Linked DNA regions of Homo sapiens: region 2 is linked to region 1. Evidence: promoter capture Hi-C in 16 types of primary human blood cells and fetal thymus (Javierre and others, 2016). All regions are on one chromosome and are shown on one strand. The core of a region is centred on a gene start or on the middle of the fragment in contact, and the rest is flanking DNA. Distances in the headings are between cores, read along the strand shown. Region 1 holds the start of MOB3C (MOB kinase activator 3C). Region 2 holds the start of PDZK1IP1 (PDZK1 interacting protein 1).

Region 1 (2,749 bases), core at 179-2,678:
TCAACAAAAGAACATACCCACAGTTCTATGAGCTGGGATTCTTTCTTTACTTTTATTTTAGGTTCAAGGGTACATGTGTAGGTTTGTTATATAAGTAAACTCTGTGTCATGGGGATTTGGTGTACAGATAATTTCATCACCGAGGTAAGCAGCATAGTACCTGATGGGTATTTTTGTCTCATCCTCCCTCCTCCCGCCCTCCACTCCCAAGCAGGCCCCAGTGTCTGCTGTTCCCCTCCTAGTATCTATGTATTCTCATTGTTTAGCTCCTACTTGTAAGTGAGAATATGCAGTATTTGGTTTTCTATTCCTGTGTTAGTCTGCTTAGGATAATGGCCTCCAGCTCCAGCCCATGTTGCTGCAAAGGATATGATCTGGGTTAAGGATCTAGCGTGTTCTCATGTCATCCAGCAACAGAAGGTCCAGACACAAGGGAGGTCCAGTGTGCCATGGTAAATGCCCACCTCTGGCCTCCAGCTCTCCCCTACCCGCATCTACTCACCTCCCACCCCTCCAGAGTGGCTTCTATGGCTAAGCTCTCTGCTTTGGGCTTCCTACCCTAGAAAGCCTCCAATCTTCCCTCCCATCCCAGACAGAGCAGCCAACTGGTCCCTGGGCCTGGGGGCCACGGTGTGCATTGAATGCTGGTGGGATATCTGTCTGTCCTCGAAGGAACCCAGGTGGTAGGGAGAGCAGATCAGATCTTGAGTGGTTTGGATTTGTCAGAAGGAAGGAGGGAGAGAAGGTATTCTAAAATGGAACAGCTGGGATAAGGGTCTGGAGATAAGAAATGGGGTGACTCTGGGTAAGGAGCAAGGAGAATCAGCCCAACCTGAGCCAGGCCCCCTCCCTGGTGAGGAGATGAAGTTTGTGATTTGAGCGCTCTTCTGGGGCTTGTCCCTCAGGGGTGAAGGACTCAGCTCATGATTCCCAAGGCGTTCATTTATTCCTTCACTCACCCATTCATTCATTCATCAAGTGGGTTTTGAGTTCCTGCTATGTGCCAGGAGCTGAGGATATGGGAGTGGATAGGACGGTCCCGATCCCTTATTGGGTCCCGGGACAAGTGTGACGCAGACGATTCTAGGAGGGCAAAGAAACCACCCTTATCTAGCAGCTCTTGTTTCTGCTCCAGAAGAAGCCGAGCGTTTTCCCATTTTACTGTCTGGGAACTTGAGGCTGCCTCCTTGGTGGAGGTCCAAGGAAGCACCGAGAGGGCGGGCAGCTCAGTTAGTCCTTTGTCCAAGGGGAAGCTGGGAGCCCCATATGGACTTTCCGGGAAGGTGGGGGCGAGTGCGTCTGTGTACTGGAGTGGAGGGGAGTCCCCTTTCTCCGCCCCTCCCCGCCCCGTGGCCGCGGCGTGGCGGGGCCGGGGCGGAGCTGGCGTCGCCCGGGGCAGGAGGGCAGCCGCGGCCGGCAGGACAGGCAGACGGACAGGCTGACAGGAGAGAGAACAGGCACTGCGGGACCTGCAGGAGAAAGGCGATCCTGTGGCTGGGAATGTGACCCCACGGCCAGAAGAGGACCCGTGAGTGTGCGCCGTGCCCCTGCGGCCTCGCCGCGCACCCCGCCCGCCTGGCTTCCACTTTCATTTCTTCGGCCGTCCTGGCGTGGCACAGTCCGGAGGAGAGTCCCGCCCGAAGGCAGGCTGGCCGCTGTCCTGAGGCTGGCGTCCGAGGCTCAGAGCTTCGAAAGTTGCGGGGGGGATTGTCGGGGTGGGGGAGTACGGGGCAGAGGGGAGGGGTTGGGGGGCGTGTTTTCGGGGAGCGGAAATGTCAGGCGGGCTCCTCTGGGTCCTACGACCTTCCTGGCCCTGGGAGCTGGTTTGAGGTTGCAGGGAAGCCGGGGGTGGGCGTGGGTGGCTGCGCGCCGCGAGGAGAGCGTGGAGTCTTCGCCTCTACTTTTTCTCTTCGACCTCTGTCCTAGAGAGAGTCCCAGGATGGATTCTGGGTTCAAACTGGGGCCATCCTCTGGCCCAGATCCTGGGCCAGGCCCAAGGAGTGGTAGATGTAGCCTAGCAGGGGGCTAAATATCAGAAACAGGTAGGGTCAGCCTGCTGTCTTCATTTGAGAAGCCCAGATCCGCACCCAGGGAACGAGCAAGGCACTGCCACTCCAGGAGTGAAAGGATAGCCATCACTGGGAAATGGGGGCTAGGACGGGGAACGGCAGTGGTTCAGGGAGAGACAGAGGTTCTGTGACAGATAGAAACTCAGTGAGGGCATGGGGGTGGGGAGTGAAGGGAGTTAACCCTGTGGCTAGAAGAGCACCTGCCCTGCACCCACCCCCTGAGCTTACATTTTCCTGGAAAGAGACCCAGGCCTTGAAGTTCCACAGGAGTAAGGTGGAACTCTAGCTCACTGGTCAGGACACCCCAGTTGCTGTGCGGAGTCAGTGTGTTGGGGACAGGAAGCAGGTTGGGCTGTTTGGTGGAGAAGATGCTTCCACTGTCCCTCCACTCCCCTCCTCTTCTCTGTCTCCACCAGACCATTGATGAGCCAGTGCAGGAAAATGGTCTTTTACTCTTGGTCATGAGCTGAGCCCCACCTTATCCCAGTTCCCAGTTCTGCTTGTAACTTGCTATGTGGACACAGGCTCCTCAAGTCCTCTTTTTAGGCCTCAGTTTCCTCATCTGGGCCTCAGTTTCCCCATCTGTACAAGTGAGTTGGGCCAGCTGATCTATCAGGGCTATTTTAACTCTAAGATTCTAGTCTAAGCTTTCCTTAAAGCCTGAACACTGACTTTGTGCC
Region 2 (2,749 bases), core at 89-2,588, 570 kb before region 1:
GAGGCATGATGTCTGAGTGCTCCCGCTGGAGCAGGAAGGCAGAATCAACCTGCCATAGGAAGGGTTGCCCAGGAGGCCTGATGAATAGGAGTTTGGTGGCTTCAGGGAAGAGAGGCTGTGGAGGTGCCTTCAGCTCAGGTGCTGGCTCCTGGGGACCTTCCATCTCTGATGAGACTTTGTTCCAGTTGGCCCGCTCCTTTCTAGGGAGTCAGCATCTCAGCTTCCCATACTTCTGGGGTGGGGGGTGGGGCAAGGAGACCAGCATGACCCTTGGTCAGGGGCTTGCACAGGAACTCTGGCCATTCTCATTCCCTGAGCTGGAGGGCCAGGTGGACACCACGTGATCCTGGGGAGGCTTTTGCCTCTTCCGAGGGCTCTGGCTCCAGGGCCTCCCTGTTCCAGGGGCTAGGTGTGCCTTCCTCAATGCTGCTTTTGGCTATGAGGGTGACGGGCCCAGGGCTTCAGGGCCCCAGATCGCACCTTGCCATCTGGGGTGTCCGTCCTTTGTCCCCCACAGCAGGCTGTGTTTGCCCATTTTCTCCTCTGCCATGGGTGGAGATGGATCTGAAGTTGGGTGTTGAAGCCTCTGACCAAGGCTGTATCTTGTTTTGAGGCCCTGCCCGGTTTCCAGGGACCACATCTGGGGCCAAGAGGAAGAACCGAACTGGGACTAGGTTAGCTGTGCTGGGTCAGGGCCTGGGCATGGGCTGTGAAAGCTGGGGACTGGGACCTTCAGGCCCTCTATTGAGATCTTTGCAGAAGGGGGTGGATTTAGGAAGCTACTGGGCTGGGCCAGGGCGTGGAAGGCACTGAAGCCGTAGTGTGTCCCAGCATTAGAGTCCCAGAGTTTAGCTTGGCGGGGCAGGGGCAGGTGGTGGGGAGAACAGGAAATAGGCCAGGCTCTCGGCGGAGTCTGGCAGCTTTGAGCCTTCTCTGGGCTTCTGGGGTTTTCCCCAGGCTCCTGAGCCAGCCAGGACATTTCTTAATCCCACTGTCAGCCTTCCAAGAAGCCCCGCCCACTGGGCTCAGTCAAGGCAGGAGCGACTGTGTGTCACCCCTTTCCCTAGAATCCAGCCCCACTGCCAGGAAAAGGGAGCTCAGGGCATGGAGGTGAGGCTGGGACTCTCCCACATCTGCTTGTTCCTCATACCCACCTCCTTAGCTGGCCCCTGGAAGATGACCTCGAATGCCAGCCCAAGTGAGCTGGGCACCAGCCAGGGGAGGCCAGGTCTGGCAGCTCATTACCATGGGAGGGAGGGCACGTTCTCTCCGACGCCCGTCTTCGTGTCTCCTCCCTCCCTCGCCTTCCTCCTTCCTAGCTCCTCTCCTCCAGGGCCAGACTGAGCCCAGGTTGATTTCAGGCGGACACCAATAGACTCCACAGCAGCTCCAGGAGCCCAGACACCGGCGGCCAGAAGCAAGGCTAGGAGCTGCTGCAGCCATGTCGGCCCTCAGCCTCCTCATTCTGGGCCTGCTCACGGCAGTGCCACCTGCCAGCTGTCAGCAAGGTAGCTCAGGAGGAGAGGGCTGGGCACGGGAGACCCAGGGGTGGACAGGTGGTGTTCTGGCTCCCCTCCCCAGGGCCTTGATACTTACAGTTTGGAGGGGGAGCAGGGACTGCGCTAGCTGAAAGAATGTCCCAAGGCAGAGACCTCTGAACCAAGTCTCTGCCTGTCACTTGTTTTCAACGAGTGAAAACTGGCAGCAGTTGGTTCTAGGATCTCAGGGAGGAACAGGATTTGAGGCCCAAGCCCCAAGAGCAGGCATTGCCCAAGGGATGGCTGGGTCCTGAGTACAGGGGACCCGGGGGTACAAGTAGGGTGAGAGTGGGGCCCAAGCCACCCCTCAAAGACTTGGGCTTTGTCTCGGCCTCTTGGGCTTGGATAGAGAACAGTGCCCAGTGTGACTCCCCCAAATATCTGACCTCTTCGTCCTGCTCTGCCTGAATGGATGTGTGACCTTGAGCAAATCACTGCCCCTTCCTGAGACTCAGTTTTCTCACCTATAAAATGAGAACAATAAACCCCACCCTGCCCACCTCCCAGGGCTGCTGCCAGGTCAGAGGTGAAGAAGGGCTTTGCACCTGGTGAAGTAACTAACCCAAGGTCTGGCTTTCATTCTACACTGTCAGGCTGCATCTGCAGCCAAAGTCTGGGGACTCTGCAGGTGGGACTTGGTCCAGAGGGGACTGGCAAAGATGCTTTCAGAGCTCCCCTCCCACCCCCACCCCGAGCTCTTATGTGTGTCTGCTTCAACTCTGTCTCCCAGGTCTTGGAAGCCCTCTGGGGAACTGCAGACCAGAGAGGTTGAGTCACAGAGCACGGCAAGAAAGGACAGGGTTCAGACCACCTTTCTCCTGCCCCAGACACTGCCCCTTGCTGTATGTGCATGGGAGGAGGAGCAGGGACTGTGGTCCCTGGGGTGACTGGAGAGAATTGGCTGCAGGGTCTAGGAGGAAACAGGGAGGGGCCTCCAAGGGTTGAGCCCTAACTCCCCATGCTTGAGCAACCACTGACCTGAGGGAGCAGTCTGAACCCCTAGGGAAACAATGACTCCCAAATACTGCTTTTTGGCAGGTGTGGAACTGAGGGTAATCACACTGTGTGTCTTCTGCTTCCCCTGGAGATAAGTGAGGTCTGACCTCACTACAGGCCAGAGAGTTCCTAGCCTCCTTCCTCCTTCCCAATATTTGCCAGGCTCGGAGAAGAGGTCAGGCCTCCACTGCAGCAGGAGAGCTTTTGGTAGACTC

Evidence for each region. Contacts are between HindIII fragments. The CHiCAGO score rates a contact against its expected background, and 5 or more counts as called.
Region 2: the fragment with the promoter of PDZK1IP1 here is called in contact with the fragment with the promoter of MOB3C in region 1 in 2 of 17 cell types (megakaryocytes and erythroblasts); the score reaches 5.7 in megakaryocytes.

Annotation. Positions count from the first base shown.
Region 1 is chr1:46,615,490-46,618,238 of GRCh38, reverse strand. It overlaps MOB3C (MOB kinase activator 3C), which reads left to right and starts at 1,428. Exons shown (of 4, transcript NM_201403.3): 1 at 1,428-1,528. RefSeq lists a silencer at 1,254-1,533 and an enhancer at 1,934-2,003. The HindIII fragment of the contact is 4,243 bases long and covers 1-2,718 here.
Region 2 is chr1:47,188,625-47,191,373 of GRCh38, reverse strand. It overlaps PDZK1IP1 (PDZK1 interacting protein 1), which reads left to right and starts at 1,338. Exons shown (of 4, transcript NM_005764.4): 1 at 1,338-1,508. The coding sequence starts at 1,442. RefSeq lists a silencer at 763-1,057. The HindIII fragment of the contact is 10,710 bases long and covers 1-2,749 here.